Linked DNA regions of Homo sapiens: all the other regions are linked to region 4. Evidence: promoter capture Hi-C in 16 types of primary human blood cells and fetal thymus (Javierre and others, 2016). All regions are on one chromosome and are shown on one strand. Each heading gives the region's core, a stretch centred on a gene start or on the middle of the fragment in contact. The rest is flanking DNA. Distances are from core to core; before and after follow the strand shown.

Region 1 (4,896 bases), core at 611-3,110, 660 kb after region 4:
CTCAGCCTTTAGAATATAAATCTGTCTCCAGGATTTCATTAAAATATTTTTAACTCAAACTTACACTTGTATGAATTCCATAACAAAACTTCTATAAGTATACCTTAAATGTGTTTTATGGATGGCTGTACTGTATTAGTCCGTTTTCCCGCTGCTGATAAAGACATACTTGAAACTGGGAAATTTACAAATAAAAGGTTTTATTGAACTTACAGTTCCACATGGCTGGGGAGGCCTCACAGTCAAGGCAGAAGGCAAGGAGGAACAAGTCACATCTTACATGGATGGCAGCAGGCAAAAAATAAAAAGTGAGAGAGCGAGAGAGCTTGTACAGAGAAACTCCCCCTTACAATACTATCAGATCTCATGAGAACAGCTATCATGAGAACAGCACAGGAAAGATCTGCTGCCATGATTCAATTAACTCCCACCAGGTCCCTCCACAACATGTGGGAATTCAAGATGAGAATTGGTTGGGGATACAGCCAAACCGTGTCATGTAACCTCATCCAGGATTATTCATTAAATCATAGTTAAGAATTTCCCAGAATATGGGAAACAGAGAGTATGTGATTATCTGATGAGAATCCCAAATATTAAATATTTCCCTAATATTAAATACTCAAAACAATCCACAGTGAACCATTGCTGCCCTCCTGCCTTCTTGTTGCAGTGGAAGACATGCCTCTTCTTCTATCTAAAACCATCATTTGTATGTATCCCATCATTTATCACTTTTCTATGAGCTATAAATATTTAACATCCCTTCTTTATTGCCTTTTATATAATCAAATTCTCAGGTAGATTCTGTCATCTGGCTCTTAACCATGCATGTGCCTCTTCCACTCAAAAAACAAAAACAGCCTCATTCAACTCTTCATTCTCCTATTCCTATCCTCAGCTCCTTAGACCTTTCACAGCTAAATTTCTGCAAGCTTGCCTATACCTGCTGTCACCATTCTCTCACTTCCCACAAATTTAATCCACTTCAATCTAACAATCTAAAGAGGCATAGACATTTCTCTATACCTATTTGCCATCAACTTTCACCATGTATCCTCTTTCTGGGGTGGCAAGATTTTGCATATAAAAATACAGAATGCCCAGTTAAATTTAAATTTCAGATAAGCAAATATTTTTGTCAGATTTCTAGATGTAATATGGGACTCACATGCTAAGGGTATTTGTTGTTTTCTGAAATTAAAATATAACTAGCCATCTTGTATTTTATCCAGCAACCCTACTGCTACCACACAGTGTCCAGCTATCCTGGATTTCTTCTGGTTCTTTCTATTTGAAATGTTTTTTATTGCCACGGCGCTTTTACTGATGCTGGTTGTATTAGTTTCCTAGGGCTGTTGTAACAAAGAACCACAGACTAGGTGGCTTAACATGATACAAATGTGTCGTCTCACAGAATTAAAGGCTAGAAATCCAAAGTCAAGGTGATGGCAGGGCTATACTCTGGGTCTTTGGGAAAGGATCTTTCCTTGTCTCTTCTGATCTGTGGCAGCCCAGGTGTTCCTTGGCTTGTGGTAGCATAATTCCAGTCTCTGGCTCAGTCTTCATAAGGCAACCTTCCCCATCTGTGTCTTCTCCTCTACATATAAGGACACTAGTCATATTGGAATAAGGGCTCATCCTACTCCAGTATGACTTCATCTTAACTAATTACATCTGCAATGATCTTATTTCCAAGTATGATCACATGGTACTAGGGGTTAGGACTTGAATATATATTTTGGGAGGACACGAGTCAATCCACAGTACTGGTTATTTTGCTGGGAATGTGCTGTTTTCTCCTTTTTTCCTAGATGCTCCTACTCATATCTACCCACTGTTTATGATTTTAACATAATTAGCACCTTTCTCACTTTCTTGACCAAATCCTATCCCACACTTTTGTGCTTATATAGAACCATATACTTCTTATCGCGCGTTTGGATTCCATGTGATGATTCTACATGCACTTGCTTGATAATCTGATGAGTGTCTATGCTCCCCACTGGACTGTATACTCCATGAAGGGAGGAACCAGGCCTGTTTGGTTCATTAATACATCCTTACCTCTGAGCAGAGTGCCTTACCTTTAGTAGGTGCTTCATAAAGACTTGTCTAGAAATCAGTGGATTAATTATTTAACAGTGTGAGTGCTGTGAGGAAAAAACATAATTTTTATATCCTCAAAGCCTGGTACAGGCCAGGAAGAAAATCAGTATTCAATAAGAAATGTCTTAGTAAGTAATTAGTTGTTTCTACCCCTACTCTTTAGTGTGTGTTTGTGTGTGTGTGCCTGTGTGTGTATGTTTCCTAAAAAGAGTATTAGGAAGACAATTACCCAGCAAAACAGAGATGGGTGTTTGCTTATTAAATATGTAAAACCCTAAATTCATTTTCCTTTGAGTTTCTTAGATCTAGATCTTGTCCCAAAAAGATCGTGTTTGACTTGTGTTTGATTAGTAAATGTACAAGCTCAATCAATTCCAAACACTTAGAGGAAAAGTTACTCCCCAAAATTTAGTTAAAACATGTTTATTAACCTTTTAAAATATTCTTTAATTTTATAGGATAAATTCTACTTACATGTCTTTTAAATGGCAAAGTATAAAAATGTCTCTAAATAGTTAGGTTTTTAAATTTACTCTTATAAGCTATGAAATGACAAAAACAGTGTCAGAATACCAAGAGTACTTTTGAGATGTTTTTAGGATTACATGGGTGCTTAAAATATAAGGAGGCCTAGGAACTTACAAGTTTTTGATACTGGATTTCAAAACAAAGCTTATTCATTGTTTCCATCCTCCTTTGTTAACTCCTTGGAAGATGTAATGCATCTCTGTATCTGAATCAGTGGAATCTTTTAGCCATATTTTTAAATGACGATGAACAAGTGGATTTTGCCAAAGTCTGTGTGGAGATAAAGGAACATTTATTGAAAACACATCTGCTTTGAGATTTCATTAGTTTGAATTTGGGGTTAGCCTCCATAGGTCCTTAAGTTCATTAGGAACCTATTTTTGATTGCTTTTGGTGTGGCATAGAATTGAAATAAACCAAAATAGTGTCTTCTAAGAATTTAACTGCTTTGATAAATTAGTGTTAAAAGTTGAACTTGTTAACATTTAGGAGATATGGTTTGGCTGTGCCCCCACCCAAATCTCATCTTGATTTGTAGTTCCCATAATCCCCACGTGTCATGGGAGGGAACTCATGGGAGGTGATTATGGGGGCAGTCTCCCCATGCTGTTCTCCTGATAGTGAGTGAGTTCTCATGAGATCTGATGGTTTTATAAGGGGCTTCCCCCTTTACTCAGCACTCATTCTCTCTCCTGCTGCCCTGTGAAGAGATGCCTTCTGCTATGATTGTAAGTTTCCTGAGGCCTCCCCAGCCATGCAGAACTGTAAGTCAATTAAATCCCTTTTCTTTATAAATTACTCAGTCTCAGGTATGCCCTTATAGTAGTGTGAGAATGAACTAATACATTAGGTGAGCAAAGGATATAATCAATTTTGCCTAAAAGGACTTAGGCAAGTAGATTTTTAATATTTCTCATGTAGTCTAAATCTCATTATGCCCAGAGCTGCTGGCTTTAATTATGTTTAATAGACACTTGACATAGTCATACTGTGTGCAATAGCATGTTATTGTATGCTTTGTAATTTAATGAGGTAATAAATATTAAGTGAACTTTCTTATGTATTTACTCTTCCCATGGAACTAGCCTGATCATTTTATCACTGTACAAGTATTACATATTATATATGATGAGTTAAGGTTTCTTTCAAATGGCTTCACTTGAGGGATACTCTAGGATTTGCTTTTGTTATGTGGTTCTCTAAATAATATCTATGTTTTAAAATAAATCTCATTGTTTTGTACTTTCTTGTAACTAATCTAGCACATCTAATTTATATACATTTCAATAAATTCCAGTAGTATTACAAATATTTATAGACAAGCAAAATAAGTTTCTTCAACTCTATTTTTTCTTTGTTTTTAAACAAGGTGTTTTAATGTAAAAGCATTTAAAAGTTTTTATTAAATCAAATGAAGAAGAAATGATTCAAGCTCTATCAAAGTAAAAGGGGTAGGGAAGAGACAAATTTGCAAGGAGTTTTTTTTTAACCTCCAAATAAAAATGCTTTTTTAATCTTAAATGTTGTTCTACCTATTTCTATTTTTGAATAAAAATAGAACATTATTGAGTTAGAGAATGAAAAAGGCTATGACTAGGCTACAGGCTAACGTCAAGGATGCAGAGATAGTTCTAAAGAGGTTTAAGAGTAGTAAAGGCAGGTGCAGTGGCTCATGCCTGTAATCCCAGCATTTTGGGAGGGCAAGGTGGGAGTATCACTGGAGCCCAGGAGTTCGAGACCAGCCTGAGCAACATGGTGAAACCCCATCTCTACTAAAAATACAAAAAAAAAAAAAGTTAGCCAGGCATGGTAGTGCATGCTTGTAGTCCTAGCTACTTGGGAGGCTGAGGTGGGAGGATTGCTTGAGCCAGGAGGCAAAGGTTTCAGTGAGCATGGGTGACAGAGCAAGATCCTGTCTCAAAACAAAACAAAACAAAACAAACAAACAAACAAAGAGATTAGATCAAGCTGTAAATTTGCTGTCTTAGGTAATATGAAAAGCTGCAAGTGGAGATAAGGAGCTGAAGCGATCATTCATGAACACTAACCTCTTAGCTGGGTGGAGAAAAATGGCAAGAAGCAGCTGGGTGTGGTGGCTCACGCCTGTAATTCCAGCACTTTGGGAGGCCAAGGATGGTAGATCACCTGAGGTCAGGGGTTCGAGACCAGCCTGGCCAACATGGCGTAACTCCATCTCTACTAAAAATACAAAAATTAGCCAGGGGTGGTGGCCCATACCTATAATCCCAGCTACTCAGG
Region 2 (4,493 bases), core at 1,558-4,057, 740 kb after region 4:
ACCTCTTTCTTTTCTCCAGATATCAGCTCAGTTATCAATTCCACAGGTAAGCCCTGTTCACCTGTGTGTTCTTTTTTATGTTTCCCAATTGTTTTACTTTTATTTGTACAATAATTTGATTAATGTCTGTCTTCTCCACCAGATTCTAAGCTCCATAATGGCAGAGTAATGACACTCAGTCTCTTTCTATCCACAGGGCTGGACAGGACTCAAAAAATATTTGTTGAATGAAGGGTAAAAAAATGAATGAATAAGTAAATGATGACTGTAACTCACCCGTCCAATGTGCGTTTCTATTTTATGTTTTAAGCTTGGCTCATAATGCTATTTGGAATAAGGGTCCTAGTAACCGCATCAATATTCAAGGAGACTTGGGGCTCCCTTGGAACCCCAGCAGTCCATGCTTGTTAGTATTTGGCTAAACTGATATGCATAAACTAAAAAAAAATTACTCTATCCTTTAATTCACTTGACTACCTACACAGGAACCACCATTTTATTTACTAACCTTATGCTTTGGCCATTTATTTCCTGAAAGCTTAATTAGGAAATGTTCAATATACTGGCAAGGTTTTTTATGTCTTAACCTATGCTCAACTCTATGTCAGAACTTCTCCAAGCAGAGAAGATTTAGACACAGTTACAAACTCAAATGCCTACAAGAATGAAGCAGAAGTTTTTGTTCATCTTCTCAACATCCTTCTGCCTTTCTGATGGAAGCCCAACTAGGTCCAGATATATACGTTCCTCCAGGTATAATTCAGTTGTTTTTAGTATATTCAAAACGCTGTGCAACCGTCATTATTATCTAATTCCAGAACATTATCATCACTTCAAAAGAAACCCCACACCCATTAGTAGTTGCTCTCTACTTCCTCTTCCCCTAGTCCCTCGCAGCCATTAATCTACTTTCTGTCTCTAGAGATTTGCCTATTCTGGGAATTTCATATAAATGAAATCAAACATGATATTTTGTGACTGGCTTTTTTCACTTAGCATAATGTCTTCAAGATTCATCCATGTCATAATATGTATCAATACTTCATTGCTTCATATTGCCAAATAATAGTCTGGTGTTTGGATACATCACATTTTATTTATCCATTCATGTTCAGTTAATAAACATTCAGACTGTTTCTACATTTTAACTATTTTGTTTAATGCTGCTGCAAACACTTTTGTACACACTTGGTGTGAATAAAAGTTTTACTTCCCTTGGGTAAATACCTAGAAGGGTTTTGGTTTTTACTCTGAGTGAGACTGTACATCACAGAAAGTTTTGAGCAGAGAAATAATTTTGAAAGAACTATCCTGGATTCTATGTTAAGAATAGATTGCAGGCTGGGTGTGGTGGCTCACGCCTGTAATCCCAGCACTTTAGGAGGCCGAGGTGGGCGGATCACAAGGTCAGGGGTTTGAGACCAGCCTGATCAACGTAGTGAAACCCCGCCTCTACTAAACATACAAAAAATTAGCTGGGCATGGTGGCGGGCGCCTGTAATCCCAACTACTCAGGAGGCTGAGGCAGGAGAATTGCTTGAAACCGTAAGGCTGCAGTGAGCTGAGATCACACCACAGCACTCCAGCTTTGGTGACAGAATAAGACTCCATCTCAAAAAAAAAAACAAAAAAAAAAGAATAGACTGTGATTGGAAAACGATGGAATCAAGGGAATCAGTTTGATGCTATTTAAGTGAGCCAGATAAAGATAACTTAGACCAGACATATAGCAGTAGAGGTAGTGAGAGATGATTACATTCTGCAAATATACTGCAGGTGGAGCTAACCAGATTTCCAGATAGGTTGGATGTGGAATGTGAGTGGAAATGAGTAGCCAAGGAAGATTCCAAGGTCTTTGTCCTGAAGAACTCAAAAAGTAGCAGTGCCATTTATTGAAAGGGAAAATATTGGGATAGGAGCAGGACTGAAAGAGAAGATCGAGAGTTTGGGGTTGGTTGTTCAGTAGCTACCCAAGGAGACATTTGGGGTTCATAGTTAGATCTGCAGTTTGGAGAGGGCTGTGTATGAGCTGAAGATACATGTGTTAGAAGTCAGTATATAGGTGGTATATAAAATATAATCATCTCTGATCCTTTTAAACCTGGGTCTCATTCCTTCCTCCACCCCTCCAACCTTCTGTGGGCCCAGCTGCTTGTTTCTCTGGCAAATTCCCCAGCTGTATAAGAAAATGCCCTCAAAGTGTTAGTTCATCTGTTCTTGGGCATAAATGACCACATGGAAGCAAAAATGCTATGACCTCAATGCTCTTGTCTCGTCCAGCATGGAGGATATTTTGTCTTTTCTACAAGCCTTTTTCAATTCCAGCCCTGGTCAGCACTCAGTGTCACTGGCTAGAACCTTCCCTCATTGAATTCTTAACACCTCCAATGGTCCATTAATTCTTTGAGGGCAGACACTGCAGTATGGTCTGTGCTTCAGTCCCCCCTGCTATTGTAACAAATTATCATACTTAGTGACTTAAATCAACAAAAACTTATTTTATAGGTCTGGAGGTTAGGAGCATGAAATCAGTCTCACTGGGCTAAAACTGAGGTATTGGCAGGACTGTTGCTTTCTAGAGGTTCTAAGGAATAATTCATTACCTCGTGTTTTCTAGCTTCTAGACACTACCTGCATTCTTTGGTTCATGGTCTCATTTCTTCATCTTCAAAGCCAACAACTCCAGGCCAATCTTCTTTTCATGCTGCAATCTGTTTTGTTCTCCCTCTTCCGCTTCCTCCTTACTCTAAAAAGCACGCTTGTGATTATATTGGGCCCAGCTGGATAATCCAGGATAATCTTCTTATTTCAGTGTCAGCTGATTGGCAACCTTAATTCATCTGCAACTCTGATTCCCCTTTGCCATACAATCTAACATATTCACCAGTTCCTGGGAATAGAATGTGGACATTTCGGGAAGCCATTTTTTTTCTAACTACCAGAGTCTGAAATCTATAGCTCCTAGCATAATGCTTAGGGCATGCCAGCACTCAAAAAATGCAAATGAATGAATGAATGCATCTCTCAGTGCCTACAGCTGGGTGTTTTCCTCCCAGAAAATAGCCTACTGTTATTAATTATATTCCTGCCTACTCCATTTTTAATGGGATGTAGGGGAAGGAAAAGAGATGGAAAGCAGTTCTGAAGAGTTTTTACATTAGCATCTCCTTGGATATTGGTAGATGAAAGGAATAGAAAACCTTACAGGAATAAAACATTTAATCCTCAATCCTAAAAAAATCTTACCTGTAGCTTACAGTATGAAACCTACTCTTGTCGTAAGGGCATGTGACTCTTAAGCAGTCCAGAGAATTAAAACAGTTTGATCTTCTCATCAACACTAATGTTAAAAATAATTTTAGTGTATTTTGCCAAGGCTCTACATAGGTATCAAAACCAGGCCATCAAAGCAGTGAGAGCCAACCAGCAAAATTTCTTGATCTCTCTATCCTTGTAGAACTCTGCCTTTCCCCATTACACTTTATTTTTTTATTATTTCTTTGTTACCCCTAATTAGTTCATGAGCTTCATACAAATAGCCCCTCAGCTCATTTGCCAAACTCATTATTGTGACTCTAGACTTGGTGCATAGTAGATATTTCCCAGTCAGTGAATGACTTTGCTAAATTACTACTCACAATGTACACATGGAATCACAGGCAGCTTTCTCATCATCAATGCTTTCATCTTGAGATCTTGGAGACTCAACTTTCTTTATGGTTCACTTAGGACATTTCTGAATATTTCCATTTCACTCATTCTTCAGATATTGACCTCTCAATTGTCTTGAAAAGACAGTTATTTGCCAATTAAGTCAGCAAACTGTTCTATGCCCCATATAATGAAATAAGAACATTGCATATTACCACTGTGATTGTGTTACTGGCAAAGTCATGGAAGTAGAAATTTCCCTTCTCTGTAACTTGAGGTTGAGTCTTCACAAAAGAAACATTTGTGGGTGTCATATGAGAACATGTTGTAAGCACAAGTTATAAATTGGGTTCATTTGATTTTGAGTCAGTTTTTTAAATCTAACTCCCTTGAATTTGTGAGTAATCTTGTGCAATTATTAAGAATATGATTCATTCTGAAAATCAATTGCAAATACTTTGTACTTTCAAAGATGAGCTGTTTGTCATGATAGAAAACTAATTTTTCAAGCAGTGGTTTATAGAACCACAGAATTTCCTCAGAATTGTTGGGAATACTATTTATGGGAAACATGTAAAGTGTTTTATCAAATCCCACCCCAACATGGCATGAAGAGCTTTGGTTCCAGGACATGAAAAAAAAATTGTTTTAAAATTTCAAGGTGCAGGCCAGGCATGGTGGCTCATGCATGCAATCCCAGCACTTTGGGAGGCTGAGAGGCAAGATGATCACTGGGACTCAGGAGTTTGAGACTAGCCCGGCCAATGTGGTAAAATACCGTCTCTACTAAAAATACAAAAATTATTGGGGGTGTGGTGGTGCATGCCTGTTGTTCTAGCTAT
Region 3 (4,587 bases), core at 2,078-4,577, 720 kb after region 4:
TAGATTCCCAACTGAATGGGAAACATTAGAGGTTCGCTGAAGTGGATGTCTTTCGCCATCTTTTGCCTACTCCCCACCCCTCAGCATCCTGCCCAATTCTCAACACAAGTATTTGAGAATATCAGAAAAAGGATTCAAAGACTTATTCTGGAACCCCTCTACATTGTCAGGGCTTTGCATTTCTTGGTGTGAGTAAAGTAGCTTGCCATGCTTCACTACATTTTCCTTCACCAGCAGAGCTTTCAACATAGCTGAGAGGGGTTAGAGAGGGGTTAGAGAGGTCCCAGGGCCATAGAGGCTGAGTTAAGGCATGATTGTGCAATGGGCCTCTAATCTCCCATAGCATTTCCAAGAGGTCCTGGGAGAGAATTGCCTTTGCATTCATTCATAGACAGAGCCAAGAGCTTTGAATCGCTTTTACTCTCAGGTAGTAACACAGACTCCATGCTGCTTAATCCATGGAGACAGAAGTCAGACTTACAACTCAACCTGCAATGCAGGGCCATTTAGGACCAGGTCATGGCATCATTGAATAAACATTGTTTTTTAATGTAAAGCTGTTCTACATTCTGGGCACATTTCCTGGTATTTATTATATGTTATCTTTTATTTTCACAGCTGCCCTGCAAAGTGTGTGTTAATCTATTTATTTTACTGATAAGAAACTAAAAGAGCTCACTCAATCAGTGTTACACAACATATAACTAGAAATTTGCTTATATTCCTAAATGTGTGGTATTTCCATTATATCACAAGGTTTCTAACATCAAATGTTTGGGCAGAAAATGAGTGTTTCACCCATGGTTTACACTACTCACTTTACAAATAAAGAGATGGAGGAAAAGAAATAGCATGCCTGAGGCCACACACTTTAGTGGCAGAGTTAGAGTTAATAGCAAGTATTTTAATTTCCATGCCAGGGCTTGGGTCACTATACAAAGTGCATAATGATTTCCTTCTTGCCTTTGCAGGAGCTATAAAAGATGTCTATGAAAGTAGCATAAATACCAGAAAGTAATTCTCCTTTAACATTTCCTCTTCCATTTACCTGACTTTGGTTTTCCACATTAGGGAGCGCTTTCTGAGGAACCCAGGGAATCCTACAAGGCTCCCAACTCTAGCTCCAAGGCCTCCCTCACCATTTTCTCTTTTGTACCATTGTCCTTATTTATATCTATATGGGAAAGAAAATTAGTCTCTGCGGCGCACAAGCAAAAGCCCATTAACACAATGAGAAGAGCAGTAGGCCTTAACACTTAAGACTCAGAGATAGATTATAATAGACATTTGAAAACTAGACAGTTTTCTAGAATTAGACTTCTGTTTTGTCTAAGAATCTATTCATACGACCTCTGGAAAGACCCAGCAATTTCTCAGCAAGTCAGTTTCTGCTCCTAATATATTGTTTAAATTCTATAAAAAGATATTTCTACCTAGTTAAGGCTTACAAATAAATGATAAAACTGTTATATAGCTTAAATCAAACTATTCTACTGACAATTAAATGATGCAATAAGTACTCAAAACTCTACAATGCATTTGTTATACAAGAATGAATATTCAATTTTTGCTTCTATAACTTCTTTCTATGGCCCAATTCTTGATACATCCCCAAGTTAACACTTCTCAGAAATATGCTAGCTCTTTTGAAGCTTTTATCAGTGTAATGTTGTTAGCAGTTCTAGTGAAGATTTAAGTTAAGAGGCTAAAGCTGGTAGCCAAATGGTAGTTTGGGGATTATCTGGGAATTTCAAGGATCTCTGTTAGCACTGTCCCCATAGTATGGTTGATGACAGAGTTTTCAGTGACTCATCTTTGCAGTCAAATTAAGGGGTTTTGGGAACCACCCAGGTCTTCAAGGCCAGTTGTTAAAAAGTAACAAGCTTCCTACATTATTAGAAATCGGGGGCTTGTTATCTTGCCTAAGGAACTGGATAAACTGAATCTTACTCATTTGACATTTAGAAGTCATTATGGAGAATCAGAAAAACTCTCATGTTGGTTGGCTAGTAAGCTGGAGTTTTATTAAGCCTTGTAAAAGTATAAGACAAATAAACATAGAGTATGAAGGGTTGCCCAGTTGTAGGTCTATGATAGTATGAGAGAAGTAGAGTAGACGAGTCGAGAAGTGGAGTTAAAGATAGTATAGAGAGAAGAGAGTTAAAGAATTCTGATTTCTTTCTCTGAGTTTTAATGTCTGACCTGCCTTATTCCAATTTCAAGGTCAGCCAGCAGACTAGCACCACAAACACTAATTAGAAAAGCCCTGTTCAACATTCTCCTCTATCCTTTTGCCATAGTGGAGCAGTTAATAACAGAACTGCAGCAGGGCTCTCAGCTAGTAGTAAATTGAGAACATTTTCATGGGGATTGTGTGCTGCTCAATCTAGTTCTTAACCCAGGAAGGTTGGTTAGTATAACATTATGAAATGCTTTTCAAATGTCAGCTATTATTTCTGCAGTGATCTCTTACTGATGTATGTTTAGGGCTCAACAGACTGTTATCTAATTTCTCACCATTCCCCAAGTTCTGCCACAAACAAGCTGAGGCACATCGAAATCTCCCACACCATGCCATAAAGCAAAGTTAAGCCTTCTCAGCAGATGCCTATTAACAATTAAAGCAAAGTTTGGAAAGAGAGCTTTTAGTTGAGAAATGCTGCAGGCAGTCAAATAGGGAACAGAAGAGAAGCACTTAAAAGTTTTTGATGTAATTGTCTGGATAGATATTAAAAGCAACATATAATACTTATCTAATTTTCTCCGCAGACTGAGAAGGCAAACATGTCTTCCTAGAACGATATGGGAAAAGATAAAGTAAGCAGGAGGAAACAAGGATCTGGCTTACAGATGCAGTACTACTTCTTCATACAGAAGAATATAGAACTGGGAATTTTTCAATCAAGTTGCAGATTGCAAGGAACCTAGAGACCAGAGTACAGAAAGACAAGGTATCAGATAGCTCTGTGATGTCCAGAGGGGTGCAGATTTTCAGTTGGGAGAAGTGCATTTATTGACTTAATTTGTAATATTTTACCATGAGCAAACAGGATGACTTGGCTTACTTTATAGCCCATGAGGCAGAGCACAGACACTCAAATAATGGTAAGCCCTATAAACAGAGATCACAGCTGTTCTGCAAGCTCACAACAAAGCACTCCCTCATCAGAGAAAACATCGCATAAATTTTTAGGCACCTGGACAATCTTGTTAGTGATATCTAATCCTCTTTGAAAATCCAGGCTAAGTCTGTAAGCATTTTAGCAGTTGTCAGCAGTTTAAAAAAAAAAAGGGTGGGGGGCGGGGGGACATTCTGTTTTATTCATAGTGTTCCCAAGCAAGTCCTTTCTGAAAATTTTAGCACTATGTTTAGGGTACGGAAGAGGAATCCCCATGCAAAACCCTCTCCTAGTGTCTTTCCAGTCCAGGGCCCTCACACACAAGTCCTATCTTTGAGATATTCCATTCCTGGAGTCTCATTCTTAGCTCCTCCAAAACTTTGCTGGAGGCCTATTAAGTGCCAGAAACCACATGAGCACTTAGTAAGTAGTATCTCACTTACTTCACACAACTGTTTGTAAAGTACATAATTATTTCCATTATTATTACATTTTGCTGATGAGGAAACAGACTATATGAAGTCAAGCAATAAGTTAATTGTTGGAGATGTGAAGCCAGAAGATCTTGACTTCAAGGTCTGTGCTCAGTGCTGTTAGCCAACCTCTATGCTAAAAGGCTGCCAGAGCCTTTTTTTAAGACCAGTTGTTCTGGTCATACCATTGGGTTTTACTTAGCCAATGTGGCTTGAAAGTACCATGCATCATTCTAGTTCTCGTGAGACTATTAGCACTTTAAAGGCAGGGACAGTGCCAGTACAATGAGTGGCCTGTAGGACACATTCAAGTATTTGTTGTGAATTGTCCCTTGTTCTCAGGAGAAAACATGATGATTTGGAAGTTGTTTACACTTTTGAGTGTGGCTAATCTTAATCAAAATGGCTTATCAGTTTAGACAACTTTTTAAATCTCTCTCAGCCTTAGTGTCCTCAGATATAACACAGGGCATAACCTCAGGCCATTATCTACCTCAGATGTTATTTTGATGATGGAGTAAGTCAGTTATGACAGAAGCCTACACAAAAGAATGGCATATTTCAGGGATTTAATATATGTCTCTTATCTTCCCTGAATGTAATGGTGCACAGACACCATTAGATTTAAATCTTTAAGAGAAAGAGAAGTCAATACCAAATAGTAAAGAGTAATAATCATAAAATAAAAAAAACAAAAGTCCTGCAAAGCTCTGTAAGAAATGCTTTTGCAAGAAGAGTTACTATATCCTCCTAGAAGCATGTTATTTAGCAAACTGAGAAGTACATGTCTAGTAGGAATATCTAGCACTCATTCTGACAGAAGTGATTCACTTTAAATCATATAATCCAGTTGGGAGCTTGTACTAGTCAGAGTTCTCCAGAGAAATAGAACCCATAGGCTGTATAGTCATAACCACATTTTGGTCAATGTCGGACCATATATACAACAGTGGCCCCATAGATTATAATGGAGCTGAGAAATTTCCTATTGTCTA
Region 4 (4,480 bases), core at 1,830-4,329:
GTGATTTGGTGTTACCCTTAATGAATTCACAGTGTAATTCTTTGTAGCCTAGTATTATTCAAAAATGAGTTTGGAAGCTCTTTTAGGCATTTTCCTTTTCAGATCTGGAAGAACATTATCTGGTAAAGTCCTGATGCAATTAGAGGAGAGAGTGTATAAACTTATTTCTGGAAGATGGCTCTCTTCGTGTGTGATGCTCTTCACATTACAGCCATTAATGTATAATTGTACTGTATTGGGGGATTTTATTCCATTCCACTTCCTTTTCTGTTAACGAATCACAAAATGAAGCAGAAATGAGTGGAAGATGACAGCAGAGTAGAAAACTCAAGAAAAAGAAGGTTGAATGATCTGCCATCCAGAAACCTGCTATAAATTAAAAATATGTTAATTGCATACTTATTATCTAACATAGAAAAATTACTGATTTTCACCAATGCATTAAACACCAGCATATAGTGAGCTTCTGCTTTTAATATAAAATATACTACCCGTTGTGATGAAAGGAAAAAGAGTTAGAAAAATCCTGTCCCTGCCCAACCCTGAGTGGTTTTATCACTTAGATCTCCACATAGTTTTTGACAATTAGGATAACAATTTTTGAGTGAAAGATAATGTTCTGAGCACAATAGAAAAAAAGGGACATATACAGACACGTGCAATCATCTTTATTACCTGTCACCTCTTCTGTGAAGCCCTGCTTATCCTTTTTTGGAGCAGTCAGAGGCCATGTCTTTTTCTTAACCATTCCTTCCTCTGTAATCCCATATTAATGAGTCCATTCTCTATTATAGCGTGATAACCTAAATGAGAGAGAATTGTATTCTTACTTGGTTAAATGGTGGGCAGGGTTCAGGTCATTTCATCTGTATGTTCCCAGAGAATGGCACAACACCTAGCACAGAAAATGCATCCAATCAATATTTATTGAATGAAATAATGCATTTAAAAATGACTGCAAATGTCAGCATCTAATTGCTTAAGATGATAGTTTAAAACTCAAGGGTGTAGTTTATACTTAAAACATGAAATGAGATCTTTAAAGTAAACCAATGTATTTTCAAAATCCTTAGTATCACAGGTTTTCTCATAGCTTTCAGAAAATAACTTCCATGCAAGATGATTTTACATTGTTTTCTGTTGATGCTTTAAAATGGCAAGGAGACAAGAAGGGGAAGTGTTCAACTGGGCTGCATGTTCCATTGTGATTTTATCAACAAAACATTATTACTGTATATTTTCAGTCTAGACATAGACATAGATCCAACAGTGCCTGTGAAATGATTATTATCATCTATGGAATGTTATTATCATCAATAATGTTTAGTTAAGAGTTTCAGCTTTTAAAAACTGTTACAGGGATTATCTCATTTAATCCTATAGCTGCTATATGTAGTGGGTACTATTCATATCACCATTTTATAGATAAGAAGAGAGGCTTAAAGAAGTTAAGTAACTTCCTTACAACCAAAATGTGACTGAATGAGAATTCAGGTAAAAATTTCCCCAAAATATTATTTATCCAAATATCTGTAACATGCTACTAAGTGCATCAGTCAGAAAATTTGTATAGCTTGATTAGCTCTGAGGTTCTCGAAGGTTGGAAATCATATATTATTTACCTTTGTATTACCAACACCAGCATTAGACACAGAATGACTAATCTATTAGACATTTGTTAATGAATGAAGTAATCTCCTTATGGGATAATAATAGTAACAATGAGAAGAAAAATAGAAATTCACAAAGTGGTGCTCTGCTTTCAGTGAGTTTTCATGAAAAGTTTAATGGTAATGAACGTTCATAAATTTGTCCAAGGTTAGAATATATTAATATGCAAATATTTAATTTGACATTTCATAAAAGAAAATTAAATAAGATGTGCAGCTAATTTATACAATTTTTTGATAAAAATACAGGGACAAGCACCCCAGATGCAGAAACATTTTAATCTCCTTGGAATTTTTGGGAGTAATATTGAGGTTGAGAACTGTATGGTCCGCCACATAAGATTTACAATCTGCAGGGTCCCTCCTTTATAAGGCCAGCCGTGCTTGTGTTCAAGGACAAAAGTTTAGCCAAATGACTTTAATCATTAGGACCTCATTTCCTGTCTGAAACAGATGAGCACCAATTATCTGCAAGATATTTTATGGTATACATGGTTAATGATTTAAGAAGTTATTTGCCAGAATATTTGAAATAAATTTACAAAATACACTTTAAGTATTGATTGAAATTAATCAACTTTTTGAAAGATACTAGGCCTGCAACAGAAGTCACGGTGAGGGTTGAGGAAGGCTAACTATTGTCACTTCTGTAGCTGAGGATAAGGCAATAAATTACTCTCTTAATTTTTAAGAAGAAAAGGCATTTTTACCATCTATGTTATTCTATGTAGAGTAGAAATTCTGGTACATCCAAAATATTAAAATTGTTTGTCTAAGAGATATTTACCAAGATAAAGACAAGAAGACTTTTTACAGAAAAAGAAATGCATCATTTTCTTCGAAATAACATTAGAGGAAAAAACCTGTGAGACATGAACAAAGACCTACTATAATGAAAAACATATTTTAAACAATAACCATTCAAATATAGTTTAACACTTAAATAATGTTCACTTTGACCAGTTTGAAAGAAGACTCTGTTTTCATTTTGGAAAGCAGTTCCAACAGGTTACCTAACAATTTGACATTTTTCTTAAAATCGCAAATTGTTGAGAAACTTCAGGAATTTTCAAGTAAGAGAATGCCCTGCTGTTTGGAAACAAGGTAACAGCAAAGCATAATCATATTGTAAAGAAACATTAACATCACTCTCAGTTTGTAAATTGGGTTTCCCCCTTACAGCTACGTAAGGCATTTTTTTCTAAAAACTGTAGTAAGATAAAAATCATTGATTAATTAAAGACAAACTTGTTTCTTATAGTGTTTAATCATCCAAATACCTTAAATCAGGTTCTTACTTACCTCAAGATTGGTGTGTCAAGCTCTCTCTTTTGTTCTTTTGGTTATGTTTTAAACCTGCATTGGGTTAGAACTTGTTCCTCTTTTTCACTTTGGTGGGTTACTTCCTTCTTTCCCTCCTTCGTTCACGCTATTTAATACTTGCAAAGTTTCCTGGCTCTAGAGGAAGTCAGTATCAGATGCAGCAGAATTAAGATAAATGGCGTGAGGTTTTGAATAAGGAAGTCTGGCCCTTCATCTTTGTCAAGTAATAGTTTTTTAACTGTGTCAGAAAATAATACGTAAAGCCTACATGGTTTTTTATTTGGGCCATATTTGCAGTTCCCACTTTAATATCAATAAAAGTCACTTCACTTGTACTTTGATTTTTTAAAAAAAGAAATATTTTAATTGTAGTAACACATAGGTCTTGGGCTTTTATTATTATTATTATTATTTACTTGTGTTGCTAGACCAGTCCTCTCTTCAAATATTAATATTATGTACCAATGCTCCCAAGTTATAGCCATACAGGTCAAATCAGTGTCCCAATTTGGGTTTGGAAAATGTTAACGTTCTTTTAAATTTATAAATAGGAATTTCCTAAGGTATGTTTTGAGGCCCATTACCCCTGAGATATGCTAGCAGCTCTTCCATCAAGTAAATGTGGGGAATACTGCTTCCCTGGAGATTCATGGGTACATCAGCATGCTAAAGGCTCTCAGCAGTCTTACAGCCAGCAAACAAAATAAAACCAAATAAGAAAAAGAAATTGTTTAACTTTGCTTAATAATAGTAGTCAGTATGTTCCTAGCACTAAGTACTCCAAACCTTTTGTGTAATACTCAGCAAATCTTGGCAACAACCCTGTGAGGGAGAAAAACTGTTATTAGTCCTATTTTACAGAAGAGGAAACAGAAGCACACAGAATGATCACTTGCCCGACAGAGCCTGCAGTTTGCCCCCAGCACCTGTGTGCTAAACCACTGCACTGGCTGCCTTGCTAGATTGAGTAACATGTTTCCCACATAGATACGCTTACCAAGAGCATCTCTTGGAGTCCAACTCATGGGAACACACACAGTGGGAGATGCTGAATTAGACAAATTACAGATGAATTCGACAGATGAGATGACAAAGTAATGGAAAATTTGTCTTTTAAGTTGTCTTGGAACTTTTTGAACCACAGAGGATTAACTTTGCATAAGGTGGTTTTAAAAAAGAGGATTTAGTTACTGAAATAACTACTGGACATTGGAAGGACAGGACGTATTATTAACACTTGCTGAGCACTGACATTATGCCAGGCATTGTGCTAAGAGATGAGGATGCAAGAGTGAATAAGCTCCCTGCAGCACTTAAAGCCAAGTAGAGAGGCTGCTGCGCCCACAGAACATTTCAGATCAAAGTGATAATGCCTAAGAAAGACAGGATTATGGACAGGGACAGTGGAGGTAAAGGAAAGAGGCATCCAGCTCAGAGGGTGGTCAGGGAAGGCAAGACCTGAGCTAAGCCTCATAGAATAAGGTGTT
Region 5 (4,927 bases), core at 1,649-4,148, 760 kb after region 4:
ACATTTTACTATTTTGCTCTTGATTCAAGGCTATAGCTATTCAATTAAATCTTGAAGTCCCACTTTTATTATCTAAATTTTGGCAACCACAAAAAAACTTCTCTCTACTCACTGTAACCTCCATAGGAAATATAATGCAGAGAATTTATACTTACATGGGAGTCCATGAACAATTAGAGTCTTTCCAACATTTCACCCGAGCATTTCTCCAATAAATTAGTAAAGCTGCCACCCCTTGCCTTCCCTACTGATTTTGGTGAAATTGGAGAGAAAAATTGAGCTCTGCTTTGCACTGGTACCGATCTTTAGCCTCACTTTAATGTCGACAGATGTTTTAGAAGTGCATTCTCCAAGTTGTTAGGAAAATCCTTTTCCCTGAACGCCTGCTGGCAAGTTAAAATTGAACAGTATTCTTTGTCTCTTTCCAATTTAAGTAACAAGTAAAATAACTGTTTTTGTGTCTGGCAGGAATAATTCATCTTCATCACTTCACAAAGAACTCTATCCTTGAACAGCCTGCAGTATGACTATATTGCCAGCAGAAGGGAAACAAGTCAAAGAGCAAAGCAGAAATGTTCCTAGGAAAGATTGCTACTTTTCTATCAAAAATGTGCAATGGCAGAGGTCTCATGAAATGAAAAATACAAATGGTCTAAAAATAAGTAAACACTATCTATCATGCTAAGCCTTTGTGTATCATCCTGCTCAGAGCAAGTAAAATGTAAAATCAATGCTATTGTTGGAATAGGGAAAAATCTCTTGCAGGTGTTGATGAAAACAGAAAGTCCTCTCTGTCTTTCCACTTACCCACCTTAAGTCTCTAAAGTGTCACCTTGATGAAAGCTAAAGGGAAAAACAAGATACAAAAATAACTCAAAAATTGCCACCCTCCACCTGCATCAGTCATTTGGGAAGAAAAGAAAGTGGGAGACTGAAAAAAAAAAACAGATTAAATAGCACAAGATAAACTGAACCCCAGAAAAATGGGAATGTGGAAATAGAGGTATGCTTTGAATTAAAACAAAAGGGAGACTCTGCCCAGATGAAACCAAAAGGTCATCAGTTTAGAGTAGGATTTTTGGTTTCATGATATGTGGCCTAAAATAATGATTATAGTAAAAGCCATATTCAGAAAAATTGTTTATATGAATTTCTTCTGATGGCAGTAGGATTATACTGTGACACTAGACTGATTCTGCAACTTATTCAGTAAACATGGATTAAGCTGTGACACCAAAAGAAATCAAAGGGGCATATGCCAGGCCCTGTGCTAGGCACTAGAAATACAAAGGTGAGTAAGAGAAAGACACCACCCTGAAGAGCCAGCCATTGGGAAAGGAGGAATTCTGAAGTCCGGTAAGCTGATTATATAATATTTCAAAAGAATTATCTAAAGCAGTGGCTCCTCAACTTTAATGTCCATAAGAATCATTTGTGGATCCTGTTAAAAGGGGATCCTGTTATTCAGAAGATGGTGACAAGATCCCCAATGGTGTTGATGTTACGTTGTTGGGCTACATGTTGGGAAGCAAGCCCTAACTCACAATTGATTTCAGCTTTTTCTCCAGTGAGCTCTTTTAGCACATACCCTAATGGCATAGGAATCCAGGAGGGCATTTATTTGACTGTGCTGTGTGTGCTACCCGGGAAGTAAGAGTGGAAGTCTCTGTGGCCTGACTCTGTACACCAAGTCAAGGGAGGCTGCTCTCCACTGCTTCTGAAGCCTTAGGAAATCTACTAAATCTGCTGCAGCAGCAAAGCAGTTTAGTGATGAAAAGGAGCCTCTTGATTGGAAATCTTGCTAAGGGCTAGAGTAGATTTTAAAGTAGATTATAGAATTTCCTTACCTGGGAGTCTAAGAAAAAAAAAAGTGCATAGACTTTTGTCTGCCCTAAAGACGAACATGGTGACTCGGCTTTTTAAAAACTTACCCTACTCTGAAAGTCTAAGAGAAAGAAAGTTTATGAAAGTGAATTTCAGAATTTGTTCAGTACATTCCTATTACAAACATAAAAAGAGTTGGCCTTTGGTCAAATTGAGTGTAAAGATAGTTGGCATATTTAATCAAGATCCTTCCTCTCTAGGTTGACGCCACAGGAGAAAAAATAATCAAAGATTCTGGTATGTTGGCAAAGGTAGCAGGATAATAACTAGATATGAAAATCAACTTTCTTTAAAAAAAAGTGCTTATTTAAATGTTTATTTGAAGCTTAAATGACATAAAAAAAACAGTCAAAGGAAATCCTTGAGCTTTAAGAATTATAGCTTATAAACCAAATATAATGCAAATATATTCATGTCTGCTATGGACCCGACGCTCTCCTACCTGCTGTAAGAGAGCTTAGTCACTTTCCCATTACCTCCTGTTGTTCTTTGTATCAAACTTTTACACTTTAACAGCTCTTTCTTCTCAGCCTAAAACAAGCTTAACCTAGCTCTATCTTAACAAAATAAAAATTTCTACCCTGTCCTCAAATCCCCATACTGCTTACGTCTCCCCTTTTTCAGTCCTTTCTTAGAAAGTTCATCCACCTAGATGTATTAATTTTCTCACTTCCTATTTTTGGTTTTTAATGCCCCTTTTTTTTCAAGCAGTAGAACACTCTTTTTCAAATTAAATCTTTTTTGAAACATCAACACACACATACACACAAAGAACAACTTCACTGGTTGAGAGACGGGATGGAGACCAGAGAACCCTCCTCTCAGTCTTTCATTTACTCCTGCCTGCCCCGTCAGCCCCTCAGCAACCTCTGAACAAGACCCGAGGCTCTGCCCCACCAACTGCTTCATCCATGGATACCTGCCTTTCCTTCTCTCTAAACCAAGGAAATGATCAAAGTACCTAGGATCTCCTAAAGTCAATAGGCCCTTTCTGGTCCATGTCTTGCTTGATTCTCCAAAGTATTCAATACTACAGCCAAATGTGGAATTCTTTCTAATTCCCCTCTATCTGGTTCTCTCTAGTCAGGGCCTTTGCACATTCTGTTTTCTCTGTTCTAATCCCACATTGACTTTCCATCTCACCAAGATTAAAAGCCTAATTTATTTTGATTACGTTTAATCCCCTACTTAATCCACAAAAAAGCCCCCTCCTCTCTGCCTTTGTTTTCATCGGCTCTCTCAATATCTCTAGCCATGCCAGTGGCCTCACCCCTCCTTGACCTCTTCAAGACTCTCCTTCTTGTCTTATTGGTATGGCTTGTTTCATTAGATCCTTCAGGTATTTGCTTAAATGGCACCTTCCTAGGTGCTTCCATCCTCATTTCCTGCCTCACTTATCTTCTTAACACTTGCCATCATCTAACATATACTCTACTGTACTTGCCTATTCTTTATTCTCTATCTCTTTCCCTAGAATATAAGCTTCATGAAAGCAGGAATTGATCTTTGTTTATTGAGTGGTTTGAGAGTATGTGCTCAAAGAAATGCTTGAGAAACTGAATTAACTGTATTTGTTAAATAAATAAATGAATTGATAATTAATGAATGAATTGCTGTCTCCTTGCATGTCTGCTTGAAAAAACCCCTGTATTAATACCTCCAGTCCCATCAGATCAAAACAACCTCCTTCTTGAAGTTTCCAATTCCTGAATCAGGAAGCATGAAGTTCCCCCTGTTTATTTTGCCTCTACCAAAGCTGGTAACTCTCAAAAAGGCTTGTTGCTGTGTGACCTTCATTACTTTGGTGAATTGGTCTTAGGCTAGGGTCCGCCCTCAGTATTACCAGTTCAGAAACTGGATTGGTCATCACAACAAGGTGAGTTCATCTCTCAGACATGGTCTTGAGATGCTCTTGAGATCAATCTTTAAACATGAACACCAATTAGAGTATCAACTCAGCCAGTTTTGTCCAGGACAGTCTTGATTTTAGCCCTGAAAGTCCAGTGTCTGGAGAAAACCCTCAGTCCCAGGCAAGCCAGCATGGTTGGTAGCCTTAACACAAATTTACCTACTGACAATGATGAATAGTTTACACAGAAATAAGAATAATCTAATTTTTTAGGCAGCACAATCTTTTCCTACAGGCACACCATAGGACATGCCAGATCATCATCAGAATGATGTTTTGTGAGCATGGTTTGAAAATAAGGTGAGTTGTGTTGGTCAAAGAAATGTTCATTGGCACCGGGATAAAATAGACTAATGCACATCCATCAGACATTAGAAAACATCCTGACAGAGATTATTTGTCCCAAACTCCTATGTCTTTATCTTCATTAGGCATATCATCACCAATGGGGCCAGCTACTTGAAGCTAGATTTCTATGCCCTGGTGTTTGGGTGGGCACTGCCTCATTTTGCCCACGTGATAAACTTTTTTCTGTGTTTCTGGGACTAATCAATCAACTGCTTGATTCATACACATTTCTGTAAGATGACTTAGTATAATCACACACTAAGTCATTATGAGTTGATTTTTTAAAAATTAATTATCAGACAGCAAATCCTAAGATTTGCTTTTTATCACCATTATATCAATTATTAAGTTTACTTCAGTTGTTTTCTTGGCTCTTTTGACACTAGACTGTGACTTTGTTGGGGACAGGGGCTTTTGCTTCTATCTGTGCACCCCTAGCCAGTTTTCAAGTACAGAGCCATGTTCTTCAGTATTTTCTGAATGAATGGGTGCCTGGGACTGGATAAGGAACCCAATCTCTCCAGAAAAGGCCACTAGTCCCTTTATTTTCTGGACATCATTCCAAGAACCTTTCTAAAATCCATTCTACAAAACACCAGGCCTTCAAGATGTTTCAAAAAAGCTTCTGTGATTTGATACGCATAGGAAATGTTGCATAGTATACCATCTTTCTTGGAATTCCCAAGACATTAGCATATAAAAATCACTGAGAAATTCTACTGTAATGAATCTGTTTAATTTTATTTAAGCTTATGTTTTCCAAACTTATTTAACAATAAACACTGC

What was found. The method cuts DNA at HindIII sites, captures the fragments that hold promoters and counts their contacts. A CHiCAGO score of 5 or more calls a contact.
Region 1: a fragment that was not itself captured here is called in contact with the fragment with the promoter of GAPT in region 4 in 1 of 17 cell types (total CD4 T cells); the score reaches 5.4 in total CD4 T cells.
Region 2: a fragment that was not itself captured here is called in contact with the fragment with the promoter of GAPT in region 4 in 1 of 17 cell types (naive CD4 T cells); the score reaches 5.3 in naive CD4 T cells.
Region 3: a fragment that was not itself captured here is called in contact with the fragment with the promoter of GAPT in region 4 in 2 of 17 cell types (total CD4 T cells and M2 macrophages); the score reaches 7.0 in total CD4 T cells.
Region 5: a fragment that was not itself captured here is called in contact with the fragment with the promoter of GAPT in region 4 in 1 of 17 cell types (activated CD4 T cells); the score reaches 5.3 in activated CD4 T cells.

The regions. Positions count from the first base shown.
Region 1 is chr5:57,826,318-57,831,213 of GRCh38, reverse strand. No RefSeq gene overlaps it. Among named protein-coding and RNA genes, the nearest start is that of LINC02225, 70 kb to the left of the region's middle. The HindIII fragment of the contact is 1,846 bases long and covers 938-2,783 here.
Region 2 is chr5:57,754,319-57,758,811 of GRCh38, reverse strand. No RefSeq gene overlaps it. Among named protein-coding and RNA genes, the nearest start is that of LINC02225, 140 kb to the left of the region's middle. The HindIII fragment of the contact is 4,533 bases long and covers 541-4,493 here.
Region 3 is chr5:57,774,703-57,779,289 of GRCh38, reverse strand. No RefSeq gene overlaps it. Among named protein-coding and RNA genes, the nearest start is that of LINC02225, 120 kb to the left of the region's middle. The HindIII fragment of the contact is 2,884 bases long and covers 1,886-4,587 here.
Region 4 is chr5:58,490,034-58,494,513 of GRCh38, reverse strand. It overlaps GAPT (GRB2 binding adaptor protein, transmembrane), which reads right to left and starts at 3,079. Exons shown (of 3, transcript NM_001304431.2): 1 at 2,973-3,079; 2 at 676-803; 3 at 1-267. The HindIII fragment of the contact is 6,945 bases long and covers 1-4,480 here.
Region 5 is chr5:57,730,034-57,734,960 of GRCh38, reverse strand. No RefSeq gene overlaps it. Among named protein-coding and RNA genes, the nearest start is that of LNCBRM, 160 kb to the right of the region's middle. The HindIII fragment of the contact is 941 bases long and covers 2,428-3,368 here.